3 separate regions of the Homo sapiens genome follow, and all the other regions are linked to region 3. The links are contacts of gene promoters, found by promoter capture Hi-C in human tissues and cell types (Jung and others, 2019). All regions are on one chromosome and are shown on one strand. Each heading gives the region's core, a stretch centred on a gene start or on the middle of the fragment in contact. The rest is flanking DNA. Distances are from core to core; before and after follow the strand shown.

Region 1 (4,953 bases), core at 1,579-4,078, 470 kb after region 3:
AGGCAAGGTACAGAACTATAGGGGATGACCCAGTATCAAGTTTCCCTTTTGTTTTAGTTTTGGTTCCCTGATAGCAAGTCTGAGACTTGAGTGTAAGTCGTTTATGTGGGAGGTGATCCCTGGAAGCAGAAGTAAGGGGTGGGAGGAATGGGACAGAGGGTGTGTTAGTGAAGTCAGTTGTAGCAATAGGGCTGAGTACTTCTGGTCTCTGAGAAGGTTCCAGAAAGATCTGAATGGTCTAGAACACCTCTCTGAATCGTCCACCTGTGACAGCACAAGACTGGCATTTACTCACCGGCTCCTGCCCCCATTAGTGAATGGCCTGGCACCTCTGGAATGGGCAGAGCTCCCACAGGGATGCCCCATCTATCAAATGGGGATGGAGATAACAGACTCGTCTCATAAAGCTGTTAGGTTCCATGAGTTAATATATGTAAAGCGCATCAAACCATGCTGGGCACATGGAGAGCACTCAGTAATGTATGCTATGTATGACCTGAGGGAAGAGCGTTCCATGCACAGGGAACAGCAAATGTAAAGGGTCTGAGGCCAGGACACATTCGCTGTGGAAGAGGCACAGCAAGGAGGCCAGTGTGACTAGAGTTGACTCCGGGGCTTGAGGAGTGGAAGGTCAGAAGGTGTGAGCCACTGCATCCAGCCAGGGAAGGTTTCTTCACTCTTAAAAAGAGGCTCGAAGGGATGTCCTAACTTCCACTTGTGGACATTCGCATGTAATGATGTGATGTTTTGAGCTACAGTAGCCATCTTGGGACCATGAGGGGCACACCGCAGGATAACAGAACACCAAGGATGATGGCACAAAAGGATAGACAGAACCAGGGTCTTTTTTTTCTGAGAGAGTCTCACTCTCTCACCCAGGCTGTAGTGCAACGGCATGATCTCAGCTCACTGCAACCTCTGCCTCTCGGTTTCAAGCAATTCTCCTGTCTCAGCCTCTGGAGTAACTGGGACTACAGGCGCGCGCCACCATGCCTGCCTAATTTTTGTACTTTTGGTAGAGACAGGGTTTCACTATGTTGGCTAGGCTGGTCTCGAACTCCTGGCCTCAAGTGATTCGCCTGCCTCAGCCTTCCAAAGTGCTGGGATTACAGGTGTGAGCCACCGGGCCCAGCCAGAACTGGAGTCTTTGGTCACATTGTTCAACTGCCTCTTTACCAACCTTGGACATACCTACCTCCAAACATTTTATTATGTGAGAAAACAAACCTTCTTATTGCTTAAGCCATTTTGAATTGGGCCATAGATATCTTAACACAGAGAATTTGATACCAGGAAATGAGGCCTCCCTGGGTACACCATGATGATAGAATCAGGCCAGAGCTCCACTTTTCCACTCTAGAAACTGTTATCCTGCCATTCTTACTTCCTGTAATGAGGAAGATGTTTTAGAAGGGATAACTTCCCTCTTGATGAAATTCTCTAATTCTGAATAATTCTGGGGCTGAGGTGTGGGTGTCAGTTCTACTTCTTGAAATAAAGTATCATTTAGGTGCGCACGGGAATTATGTTTCGAAAGGGAAAGGCTGGAGTCTTGGTGTCAGTGTTCTAAGGTTTTGTGAGAGACTAAGAACCCAAAATAAATGATCTTCAACAGCAAAATGGATGTTATGCAATTCACAGAGCACTATGAGCACTCTCTCAATTCACACAACTTTGAGTGATGGGCAGCATGACTTCATTTTACAGACGGGGTTCAGAAAGTGTCAGCAACTGGTGGAAGGCAAAGTAGAAACTCCTGGCTCCCTCCTTCGTCTCCAGTTTTCTCCAGCTGGCAGGGTAAGTATGCATTTCTCCATGTTCGTGCCATTCAGGTTGAGAAGGAAGACAAGCAAACCAGACATGCTTGTCTTCGACCGAGTCTGGGATCGTCCACCTTCCTGCTTGGAGTTGGTGGTTAAGTGGCCCCACAGTTTGGACTCGTGTGACCTGACTTTCATTTCAGCTGACCTTGAACAGCGGGTCTATAACTGCACCTACTTCCAGTAGTGTTGTAATGACACAAACAGACAGTGTGGAACTTGAAGGCAGGGCCCACCCATTGTCAGCGCGACTCCTGAGGGCTCCGTGTGACAGTCACTGTTGCTGAACCAAGGCAGCCAACGGTGGGGTAGAAGGCGGACTCTGGAGCCAGACCGTCTGGATTTGAACGCGGATTCGGCCACTTACTAGTTCCGTGATCTTGGGTACATCACTTAAACCTGTGTCTCAGTCTCCTCTTCTGTAAAATGGGAATAACAGTCATACCTTCCTTGCAGGGTTGTTTTGAGGTTCAGATACGTTAATACACGTGCAAAATGTTCGGAACGACTCCAGACACAGCCGGCGCCAGACTGGAAGTGGAACCGCTGGTGGGGATCATAACCTCGCTGGCTAGGAACCCCAGCAGCGGGGCAGCAGCGCACCGCGGGCTTTGCCGACTCACCCTGGCTGGGCAGGTCCGCCGCGCTCTCCCCCGCCCCCGCCCCCGCGGCCTAAGTCGGCCCGGCCGGTGCGTCACCCGCGCCCCTCCCGCCCCGCGACCTGCAAACTCACCCTGAGTCAGCCCGCCCGGGCGTTTCCACTCCCCGGACGCCGCGCGGCGCAGGGGAGGCGAGAGGCGCCCCCCGGTGGAGAGCCTGAGCCCCGCGCGAGTCTGGCGGCACCTGGCGAGCGGAGCCGGAGTCGGGCTGGGGACCGCGGGGTCGAGGCCGGACCGCGGCGGGGTCGGGGGAGAAACGCGCGCTGCCCTGGCACGGGCCCCCCCCCCCGGCCGCGCGGAATGGTATGGCCCGGCCGGAGTTAAGGCCGGGGGGAGGCGGCGAGTCCCGCGGCGGCGGCGACGATGGGGCTGCGTGCAGGAGGAACGCTGGGCAGGGCCGGCGCGGGTCGGGGGGCGCCCGAGGGGCCCGGGCCGAGCGGCGGCGCGCAGGGCGGCAGCATCCACTCGGGCCGCATCGCCGCGGTGCACAACGTGCCGCTGAGCGTGCTCATCCGGCCGCTGCCGTCCGTGTTGGACCCCGCCAAGGTGCAGAGCCTCGTGGACACGATCCGGGTGAGGCCTCGGGGAGTCCAGCCAACCGGAGGGAGGGCTTCGGAGGAGGGAGGTTGCCGGAGGAGGGAGGTCGCTGCGATGGACGCGAGACGGACTGGTTCCGGGCCCAGCCGGAGCTCAGCCTCTGCTGTGTGACCTTGAGCAAGTAGCTGGGCCTCTCTGGGCCTCTGTTTCCTCACTTGAGCAAGGAGGGAATTGGGCGAGATAATTAAAGTAGTGATGATAACGCTTATAACGCTAGTGCTTGCAGTGGTCCAGGAACTGCAGGAAGTCCCTCAGTTTCCTATGCCAACCCTAGGAGGTAGATAGTGGCTCTTTTGCAGACGAGAACTGAGGCAGGGAAGATTTCAGCGGCTTGACTAAGATCAGGCGCTTAAAAAGTGACACGGCTGGAATTCACACCCAGGCAGCCTGGGCCCCACTGCCCAGCACATGGCCACCGCACTACCCGGAGATAAGCCGTGGGCTCTCATGGCTGTGACAGTCAGTGACAGTGGGACTAGGTGTGTCATATCTGCTGGGAGGCCCTTGTCTGAATGGGAAGTGGGAGAGGTCAAGGGTCAGCTCCACCACTGAGGAAGGGTGTTAAGAATACCGGAGTGATTCTGGCAGGAACTTGGGGGCCCCGCAAGAACAGGTGTCAGGTTAGGCCTACATAACGTTGTGTCCCCTTCCCCCGACCCTTGGAAGGTGAGCACATGAGATCCCTAAGCCCCACCCAGCACCTCTACAGCCACCCCCGATAACTTTCAGTCCTAGTATTTACACTAGTGTCCTCACTGCCTGGAGCCACTTCCCCAGACAACCACAGGGCCTGCTCCCCTGCCTGGTTCAGCTCTCTGCCTCCTTGATCACCCTTGGTCAGAGTCACTGGCCTCTCTAGCTCTCCCCTTAGCCCGAGATGTTTTTCAGGATACCACTTATGTCCACCAGAAATTATATTATACATCTATTTGTGTTGCATTTTATTTTCTGTCTTCCTGACCTCACGTGCACTCCACAAGGGCGAGGACCTCGTCCCATCTTATCTGTTGCCACAATAGTAGCACGGCGCCTGGCTGAGATGGGAAGGGATCTGCCATGCATGCCCTGTCCCACCACTGGGCTTTTTCTCCCGTTGAGAACCTCTTCTATCTCTGCCTTGTCGTTTCTCACTCTTTCTCGGTCTTCCTGTCTCAGTGTCAGGATCTTCCCTGACCATCCCTACCGGGTTAGGAGCTTCTGTGGGCCTGCAGCCACCTGTGTGCCCACCTGCATAGCTCTGATCTCACTGGCTTTTTTTTTTTTTTTTTAAGACGTTGTCTGGGTCTGTCACCCTGGCTGGAGTGCAGTGGCACGATCTTGGCTCACTGCAACCTCCGCCTCCCGGGTTCAAGCCATTCTCCTGCCTCAGCCTCCCAAGTAGCTGGGATTACAGGCGCCCACCACCACGCCTGGCTAATTTTTGTATTTTTAGTAGAGATGGGGTTTCACCCTGTTGGCCAGGCTGGTCTGAAACTCCAGACCTCAAGCGATCTGCCCACCTCGGCCTCCCAAAGTGCTGGGATTACAGCCCACTGGCTTTTAACGTCCTGTCTAGACACCTGCCTTCCGTGCTAGAACCGTAGGCTCTGAGGGCCAGAACCAGCTCTGCCTTTGCTTACATACACCTGTATTAGTTTTCTGGGGCCACTGTAAGTTACCACAAAGTTGATGGCTTAAAACAACACAGGTTTATTTATGGTCAGAAGTCCAAAATGGGTCTTACTGGGCTAACACCAAGCAGGGCTGCACTACTTTCTGTAGGCTCTAGGGGAGAATCCATTTCCTCGCCTTTCCCAGCTTCCAGACGCCACCCACACTGCTTGGCTTATGGCCTCTTCCTCTGTCTTCAAAGCCAGCAACATCAGGCCAAGGCCTTC
Region 2 (4,687 bases), core at 2,074-4,573, 360 kb before region 3:
TTGTAGGGTTTTCACAGGTGCCCCTTATCAACTTGAAAAACCTTCCTTGTCTTCCCAGTTTGCTGAGAGTTATTATTAGGAATGCATGTTCAAGTTTGAAAACTGCTTTTTCTGCATTCTGTTGAGATGATTATATGAGTGCATGTATATGCGTGTGTGTGTGTGTTAGTTTAGTAATATGGTAAATTACATTGATTGATTTTTGAATGTTAAACCAACTTTATATTCCAGGGATAAGCTCAATTTGATTATAATGTATTATACTTTCTAAATATTGCTGATTGCTGAATTCGGTTTACTAAAATTTTGTGTAAAATTTTTTATCTATGTTCATGAGAGATATTGATTTTCCTTTCTCGAAAGGAAAAGGCTTCGGTTTCAAGATAACACTGGGACTCATAGAATAATTAGAAAAGTATGCTCCTTTTTTCAATTTTCTAAAAGTATTTGTATAAAATTGGTATTATCTCTTTCTTAAAGATATGGAAAATTTGGCTGGGCATGGTGACTCATGCCTGCAATCCCAGCAGTTTTGGAGGCTGAGGCAGGCGAATCACTTGAGGCCAGGAGTTCAAGACCAGCCTGGCTAACATGGCGAAACCCTGCCTCTACCAAAAATATAAAAATTAGCCGGGCATGGTGGTGCATGCCTGTAATCTCAGCTACTCAGGAGGCTGAGGCAGGAGAATCGCTTGAACCTGGGAGGCAGAGGTTGGAGTGAGCTGAGATCACGCCACCATATTCCAGCCTGGGTGACAGAGTGAGGCCCTGTCTCAAAAAAAAAAAAAAGAAAAGAAAAGAAAAGAAAAAGATATGGAAAATTCACAAATGAAACTTTCTTGGATTGGACCTTTATTTCTGGGAAGATTTTTAATAACAGATTGAACTTTTTAATAGATAATAGGGCTAACCAGGTTGTCTTTTTCTTCTTGAGAAAGCTTTGGCAGTGTATCTTTTTCAAGGAATTTGTTCATGTTACCTAATTTGTCAAATATGTATGACTTGAAGTTTTCCATAATATTCTTTTATTATTCTATTAATAAGAGTAAAATCTGTAGTAGTATCACCAATCTTATTCCTTATTTTAATAATTTAGGTTCTTTCTGTGTGTGTCCCCTCTGTTCAATCTGACTAGAGATTTATCAGTTTTAGTGATCTTCTCAAAGATTTTCTTCTTCTCATTGATTTTTTCTGTGTGTGTGTGTGTGTGTGGTGTGTGTGTGTGTGTGTGTGTTCTACTGTATTAAGTTTCATTTCCAGCTTGATGATTTCCTTTCTTTCACTACTTTGAGTTTAGTTTATTGGCCTTTTTTTCTAGTTTCTTAAGGTGGAAAGTGGGTAATTTATTTGAGTCCTTTCTTCTTTCCAAATATAGGCATTTAATACTACAAACTTCCCCTTGCTTTAACAGAATCCCGCAAATTTTTATATTATGTTTTCATTTTCCTTCAGTTCAAAATATTTTCCAATTTTTCTTTTTTAATCGATACATAACATTTGTACATATTTATGGGGTTCATGTAATACTTTGTTCCATGCATAGGATGTGTAATAAATGAGTCAAAGTATTTAGGATATCCATCACCTCATGTATTTTTCATTTATCTGTGTTAGGAACATTTTAAGTCCTCTCTTCAAGCTATTTTGAAATCTACAATACATTGTTGTTAACTACAGTTACCATACTCTGATATCAAATGGCAGGATCTTATTCCTTCTATCTAACTGTATGTTTGTACCCATTAACAAATCTCTCTCATGCCCCTCTCCCTACACTCACTTTTCCCCACGTCTGGTATCATTCTACCCTCTGCTTTCATGAGATCAATTTTTTTAGCTTCCACGTATGAGTGAAAACATGTGATGTTTGTCTTTCTGTGCCTGGCTTATTTCACTTAACATAATGAACTCCATCTTCATTCATGTTGCTACGAATGACAGAATTTCATTTGTTTTTATAGCCAAATAGTATTCCATACTGGCCATCCAGTAGTGGTATTGCTGGGTGATATGGCATTTCTATTTTTAGTTTGTTGAGAAGTCTCCATACTGTTTTTCATAGTGGCTGTACTAATTTACATTCCCACCAACCATGTATAAAGTTTCCTTTTCTTTGCAACCTTACCAGCATATATTTGTGGTGGTTTGTTTATTTATTTTGTTTTTTTTTTTTATTGTTGCCTTTTTAACAGTCGTTCCAACTGGGGTAAGATGATATCTCATTGTGGTTTTGATTTGCATTTCCCCGATGATTAGTAATGTTGAGCATTTTTTCATGTGCCTGTTGGCCATTTGTATGTCTTCTTTTGAGAGATGTTGATTCATGTCCTTTGCCCACTTTTTAATGAGATTTTTTTTAACTGTTGAGTTGTTTGAGTTTCCTGTATATTTTGGATATTAGATTAGTCCCCTGTCAGGTGAGTACTTTGCAAATATTTTCTCTCATTCAAGAGTTTGTCTCTTCACTGTGTTGATAGTTGCTTTTGTTATGAAGAAGCTTTTTAGTTTAATATAGTCCCATTTGTCTATTTTTGTCTTAGTTGCCTGACCCTTTTGAGGTCTTAGTCATAAAATCTTTACCTATACCAGTGTCCTGGAGTCCCTTCCCTGTTTTCTCCTAGTAGTTTTTATAGTTTTAGGTCCTACAGTTAGATCTTTAATTCATCTTTAGTTGATTTTGGTATATGGTGAGAAATAGCAGTCTACCTTTATTCTTCTGCATATGGATATCCAGTTTTTCCAGCACCATTTATTGAATGTGTATTCTTGATACCTTTGCCAAAAATCAATTGGCTGTAAATACATGGATTTATTTCTGTGTTTTCTATTCTGTGCCATTGGTCTATTATACCATTGGTCTATGTATTCTATGCCCTTGGTCTATTATACCAATACACATCCCAATCAAGAAGAAATTTACAAAATCCCAGAAAAAGAACACAAAATATCGATACTAAGGAAGATCAGTAAGATACAAGATAATTCTGAAAAACAATACAAAGAAATCAGAAAACACTCCAAGACATTGCTCTAGGCAAAGGTTTTGTGGCTAAGACTTCGAAAGACAGGCAACAAAGGCAAAAAAAAGACAAATGGGACTATATTAAACTAAAAAGCTTCTGCACTGCAGAAAAATAATCAAAAGAGTGAAGAGACAACCTCCTGAATGAGAGATAATATTCACAAAGTACCCATTTGACAAGGGACTAATATCTGGAATATACAAGGAACTCAAACAATTCAACAGTTAAAAAAGCAAACAAACAAATAAATAATCTAATTAAAAATGAGCAAAGGAAAGGAATGAATAAACATTTCCCAAAGAAGACATACAAATGGCCTAGAGGTATATGAAAAAATATGCTCAACATCACTCATCAGGGAAATGCAAATCAAAACCATAATGAGATATCGTCTTATCCCAGTTAGAATGGCTATTGTTAAAAAGACCCAAAAAAAGGCCAGGTGCTGTGGCTCGTGCCTGTAATCCCAGCACTATGGGAGGCTGAGGTGGGCAGATCACCTGAGGTCAGGGGTTCGAGACCAGCCTGACCAACATGGTGAAATTCTGTCCCTACTAAAAATACAAACATTAGCCAAGTGTAGTGTCATGTGCCTGTAATCCCAGCTACTCAGGAGCCTGAGGCAGGAGAATCACTTGACCCCAGGAGGCGGAGGTTGCAGTGAGCTGAGATGGTGCCACTGCACTCGAGCCTGGGTGACAGAGCAAGACTCCCTCTCAAAAAAAAAAAAAAAATGATGAGGATGAGGAGAAAAGGGAACTCTTATACACTATTGGTGGGAATGTAAATTAGTACAGCCACTATGGAAAACAGTATGGAGATTTCTCAAAAATCTAAAAATAGAACTGCCATATGATCCAGCAATCCTAGAACAGGTATTTATCTACAGGAAAAGAAATCAATATATCAAAGGAGTGCATGCATTTCTACGTTTATTGCAGCAATATTCACAATTGCAAATGTATGGAATCAATCTAAGCGTCAATCAATGGATGAATTGATAAAAAAAATACATATATATAGTGTCCCCAAGCACACCCACAATGGAATACTATTCAACCGTGAAAAAAAAATAATGAAATCATGTAGTCATTCACAGCAACACGGATGGAACTGGAGATTATTATGTTAAGTGAAGTAAGCTGTACTCAGGAGGCTGAGGTGGGAGAACTGCTTGAACCTGGGAGGCGGAGGTTGCAGTGAGCCGAGATAGTGCCATTGCACTCCAAAAAGAAGGAAAGAAGGAAGGGAGGGAGGGAGGGAGGGAAGGAGAAAGAGAGAGAGGAAGGAAGGAAGGAAGGAAGAAAGGAAGAAAGAAAGGAAGGAAGGAGGGAAGGAAGGAAGGAGTGAGCCAGACACAGAAAGACAACTATGCAGGTGCTAAAAATGATCTCACGGAAGTAGAAACTATAATGATAGATACCAAAGACTAGGAAAGGTGATGGGTCTCAGGGAGAGGGGTTAAGAGTGAGGTTGGTGAATGGGTACAAACACACAGTTAGATAAAAGGAACAAATTTTAATGTTTGATAGCAGAGTAGGGTGACTATAATTCACAACAATGTATTGTTTTTCAGAACAGCTAGGAAAGAGGACCTGCAATGTACCCAACACATAGAAATAATAAATACTCAGGTGATGGATACCAGAAAAAAAAGAAACTTA
Region 3 (4,996 bases), core at 297-2,796:
TGTGAGAGGGGTATGGTGGTCTTGGTCTTTAGTTCTAAGAGACAGAGAGGAATAGGGACAGCAGTGAGGGGTGGGGGAAAGGGGATACTTGTCTAAGTGCTCAGAATGTACAAAGCAAGTTTGAAGAGAGGTCCCTAAAGCTATGTCAGGAGGGGAGAATTAAGACTCTATTTGAGAAGCTAAAAAAAATGATTAGAGGAGTTGAGAACTGAAGCAGTCAAAAAGGAGAGGAAGGGTGAAATCTCATGGCAAGATGCAATAGGTGGGGTGGTCTGTTTCCCATGGCTAGTCTTGGTTCTGAGAGTGAGAGAACAGTGACAGTGAGGGGCAGGCATGGAGGCAGGCCCACTTCTCCCAGGAAGCAGATGTCTAGGATGATGTGGATGTTGGGGATGAGGGTCACAGGGAAGAGACAGGAAAGAAAGAAGAATGCCAGAGCAAAGAATTAGTGAGGTGGGTTGGGTCCAGCAGTCCTAGAACTCTGTGGGGATGACAACGACGTCCCTAGCTGTAAGAGGTGGAGCCTGGGGATGGGAGAAGAGGGGCTGGCCCTATGGGGACAACTATGAGGAGAAAATCTTATATGACCCTCACACCCAGGGTGTATGTGTGTACGACTCTGGGGGTGATTGCTTCCTAGAGCTTGAGTTGGGGATGGCAGTAGCGAGTGGACTATGCTGGGCCCTTCAGTAAAGGGTGAAAGGCGTGTGAACTCTCTGGGCCCATGCTAACGGGTGAAAAAAGGGCCCTGGCCTGGGGCTGAGTAGGTCAAAGCTCACTCCTGTACCTGTGCTTGGATCCAGATGTTTGGTGGAGGCTCTACTGTGGTATGAGGGCGGAACTGAGTCAGTCCCCTCACCCCGAGGCTGGGTGGTAAGGAGTTCAGACGGGATCAGGTGGGTGAGAAGTGCTCTGGGGAGCTAAACTCCTGTCTAGATTCTTTGCCATTCTATGGAATGCTAGATCCACACAGTCCTGGCCTGAGAGGCTGCCAGGCTGTGTTGAAGCGAGTGTCCGCCCTTGAGTTTACAAATCATGTTGTGCCAGCTGTGCCGTGAGGGACTCTGGGCTGGGATGGGGCAGGTGAGCAACCTCCGACCCGCAGGTTTTACCAACGCTGCCATCTGCCCCAGACCCTGCACTGGGAGAAGCGGGGAAATCGGGCGCTCTGGACCAGGCCTCCGGTACTCTGAGTTTGGGCAGAAGACAGTTCCCTCCTCCACCCTGGCCGGCTCCGTGGCGTACCTGGTCACCGACACCCAAGCCGAAGTAACCGTGTGTCACCACTTCCCAATGCAAGAAGCAGACGAGCGCGTCCTGCCTGCAGGTGATGGCCGGCGCTGCCGATGCGAACAGTACCTCCAGGCCCGCCATGAGCGCCCGCGACTTCGGCGTCTGGAGGAAAGAAGGGGGCGGGGGTAGTGCAGTGAGCCGGCTCCGCGGCCGGGGTAGCTATAACTCTGCTTCCCTCTTGCGCTGGTTCTTGCCGAGTCCACACCTGAGACCAAAATGGAGACGCCCGGGGACGGGGCGGGGCGGGGAAGCCGGAAGTAGTCCCAACAGCGGGCGCAACTGCGTGAGGCGCGCCGGGTTGGCAACGCGAGCGCAGCACTGAAAGGTTCCGCCAGGGAGTGCGAGCGGGGCGTGGCCCCTCAAAGCCGGAAGCCGGGTCTTGGCGGCAGTCGACAGGATCGCCTGACGCGGGCACAGCGTCCTCCAAGAGGCCACCTTGCTGAGAGGCAGACTTCCCATCCACAAAATGGGGTATGCTAGGCCGGGGAAGGGGCTGGGAAATGTGGCTAAAATACATTCTTAATAATCGTTAACACGTTCGCCGTGCTTGCTACCGTCCACATTATTCTAAACGCTTTACTTGTATTCATTTATTTAATCTTCACAACCCAACTCTATGCAGTTGATATTAACGATTAATGTGCCTCATTGCACAGATGAGGAAACTGAGGCGCAGAGGGATAATTTGACCAAGATGACAACAGCCAGCCGGTGAACGGCTGAAATGGTTATGGGAACCTGGCAGTCTGGCTTCTAAGATAACATTTATTAAGTGTTTATTGTGTGCTACATCGTGCGCTAAAACCTTTACATCACCCTCTCAACAACTCTATGAAGTATGGACCGTTATTATCCCCATTTTGCAGATGACAAAACGGCTCAGAGTTGAAACCACTTCTCCAAGGAGACACAACTGCTGCCCGCAGAGCTGAAGCTCCTGACCCACTATCAAATTTCAATCATTTATTTGCCTACCCCCTTTATGATTTTTACCACCCGTTACTTCAACAAGTTTCATGAAATCCACTTATTGTTTTTACCCAAATAAATTTAGTTTCCCCATCCCAGTCACTAACCTGGTTCAAGCTCCTGTCATCTTTCACTTGGATGCCTGGCATCAGCCTCAGAACTGCCCCATTCCATTCCTGTCTCTCTCTAGTCTGTACTGCACTCCGCAACCAGAGAGATTCTGTTAGAAAACAAGTCAGATCGGCCAGGTGTGGCGGCTCATGCCTGTAATCCCAGCACTTTGTGAGGCCGAGGCAGGCGGATCACTTGAGGTCAGGAGTTTGAGACCAGCCTGGCCAACATGGTGAAACCCTGTCTCTACTAAAAATACAAAAATTAGCTGGGTGTGGTGGCGCACGCCTTTAGTCCCAGGTACTCGGGAGGCTGAGGCATGAGAATCAATCGAACCCGGGAGGTGGAGGTGGAGGTTGCAGTGAGCCAAGATCGCACCATTGCACTTCAGCCTGGGCAACAGAGCGATCTTCTGTCTCAAAAAAGAAAAAAAAAAAAAAAGAAAAGTCAGATCACATCCGTTGGCTCAAAATCGTCACACTCAATGGAAAAGTAAAGTCCTCCCCATGGTCTGCAGGAATCTGCATGTGGTCTGCCATCTCCTGCCCCAGCCCTGCCAGCCCTGTACCTCTCTGATTCAGTCTCCTTCAACTGTCCTCTCATCCCCTTTATACGTGCAATAACCTTGGCTCCCCCTCTTCTCTCACATCTACATCTGGTCCAACAGCAAAGCTAGTTGACTCCACTCTCAAAATATATTATGAATCTGACCACTTCCCATCACCTTCACTGCTTCCACTCTGGTCTGATCCTCCAGCATCTCACACTTAGACTATTGCAGTAGCTTCCCAGCCAGTTTCCCTGTTTCATGTGTTCTGTTTGGGCCTTTGCGTTCCTCTTCCTGGAATGCTCTTTTCCCAGATATCTGCATGTCTTGCTTCTTCATTTCAAGTGGCTTCATCCCTCACTCCTACCATCCTCAACAGAGGGCTTCCCAGACCATTCCATCCAAAATAACCTTCTCCCGTCTTTAATCCCTCTCTGGCTTTTTTTTTTTCCTGCAAAGCATTAATCATAACCTGAAACTATGTTAGGTGTTTATTTCTTTGCTTATTTAATGACTGTCTTTCCACTAGACTGTGACAAAGGAACAGGGAGCATGTCTACCTTGTGCACATATGTACCTGAGTGCCTTCTGGGATCAATCTATACTTATTGAAAGACAGAATGAATACTGAATGAAGGAATGAATTCTTGGCCTAGCCCCAACCCAGTCAGGGCACTCTTACCTCTTTATAGTCCATCACTCCCTTTGTCAGCTGGCCCTGTGCCTCTCCAAATTTTGTGTTCCTAAAGTTTCCTTGAGACAACCAGATTCTTGAACCCCTTCTGCAGAGATTCTGGATGAGAAGGTCTGAGGAAGAGTGCATGTATGTTGACTACATTCTGGATGACACTAAAGCTAGTGGCTGTGGAACTCCTCTCTGAGATGTACTGCCTGTGGCATAAAGCTATTTGCCCTTTCTACTGAGAAGTTCTGCACTTTCAGTCTTCCCTGCTTTTGCTTGCTCTGTCCCTTCTGTTTGTAATGCCCTTATCCAATTATGGAAAATTTCTACAGATTCATTCCATCAATAAACTTTCATAGGCTGGGCTGCCATGAACCATAGTGCAGGGTGTCCACTTAAGGTGCCTACTTAGTGGCAGCCCATTCCTAAGTGCCTACTGTGGGCCAGACACAGATGAACAGGTTCCTGTCCCTATAGAGCTCACTGTCTAGTGTTTAAAAAAAAAAAAAAGTACTGGCCAGGCATGGTGGCTCACACCTGTAATCCCAGCACTTTGGGAGGCTGAGGCAGGTGGATCACGAGGTCAGGAGTTCAAGACCAGCCTGGCCAACATGGTGAAACCCTGTCTCTACTAAAAATACAAAAATTAGCCGGGCGTGGTGGCAGGCACCTGTAATCCCAGCTATTCGGGAGGCTGAGGCAGGAGAATCGCTTGAACCCGGGAGGTAGAGGTTGCAGTGAGCCGAGATCAAGCCACTGCACTCTAGCCTGGGTGATAAAGAGAGACTGTCTCAAAAAAAAAAAAAAAGTGGATTAAGGATCAAAAGGTGTTCCAGTAAAAGGAAACAGTATGTGCAAAGGCATGGTGGAATGCAGCTAGCTCTGTGGGATTACAAGGTCAATGTTGCCTCCTGAGTGAGGTTTCCCTCGTCTCTTTGCCCATGATTAATTGCACTTTCCTCAGTGTGCTTGGCATCAGTGGGCTTTCAAGGGGTGGGCATGGGACAGTGAGAGCTATCAGCCTTAGTCAGGTGGAGAATTTTATCAATGAAGTTGATTCAAATTGCTGGTACATGATGACAGTAAAAAGTGGACTGGCCTTTGGTCTGTTTTGTTACTGCCTTTACGTTTTCTACAGCAAATGTACCTACTCCTTGTCTGCACCAGGGCAGACAGCTCCGTCACCCCCACCCCTTGGTTCAACACTGGTTTGCATACAGTTGGTTGTAGCTGGCATCTTACAGGGCAGACAGCTCCGTCACCCCCACCCCTTGGTTCAACACTGGTTTGCATACAGTTGGTTGTAGCTGGCATCTTACAGGGCAGACAGCTCCGTCACCCCCACCCCGTGGTTCAACACTGCTTTGCATACAGTTGGTTGTAGCTGGCATCTT

Evidence for each region. The method cuts DNA at HindIII sites, captures the fragments that hold promoters and counts their contacts. A contact is called where the count stands out against the background at its distance.
Region 1: the fragment with the promoter of SRXN1 here is called in contact with the fragment with the promoter of PSMF1 in region 3 in 1 of the 25 tissues and cell types used here (lymphoblastoid cells).
Region 2: a contact is called between a fragment that was not itself captured here and the fragment with the promoter of PSMF1 in region 3, in 1 of the 25 tissues and cell types used here (dorsolateral prefrontal cortex).

Annotation. Positions count from the first base shown.
Region 1 is chr20:651,075-656,027 of GRCh38, reverse strand. It overlaps SRXN1 (sulfiredoxin 1), which reads left to right and starts at 2,828. Exons shown (of 2, transcript NM_080725.3): 1 at 2,828-3,052. The coding sequence starts at 2,843. LOC107985423 (a long non-coding RNA gene) reads right to left here and starts at 3,075. Exons shown (of 2, transcript XR_001754452.2): 1 at 2,554-3,075; 2 at 1-2,239. RefSeq lists a silencer at 2,391-2,950. The HindIII fragment of the contact is 30,072 bases long and covers 1-4,953 here.
Region 2 is chr20:1,482,179-1,486,865 of GRCh38, reverse strand. The region is part of intron 1 of SIRPB2 (signal regulatory protein beta 2); the gene reads left to right. Among named protein-coding and RNA genes, the nearest start is that of SIRPB2, 6.9 kb to the left of the region's middle. The HindIII fragment of the contact is 3,209 bases long and covers 1,719-4,687 here.
Region 3 is chr20:1,115,152-1,120,147 of GRCh38, reverse strand. PSMF1 (proteasome inhibitor subunit 1) reads right to left here and starts at 1,546. Exons shown (of 7, transcript NM_006814.5): 1 at 1,246-1,546. The coding sequence starts at 1,374. LOC105372493 (a long non-coding RNA gene) reads left to right here and starts at 1,700. Exons shown (of 2, transcript NR_136535.1): 1 at 1,700-1,764; 2 at 2,160-2,296. RefSeq lists enhancers at 1,274-1,403, 1,444-1,633, 1,644-1,693, 1,704-1,753, 1,153-1,795. The HindIII fragment of the contact is 13,046 bases long and covers 1-4,996 here.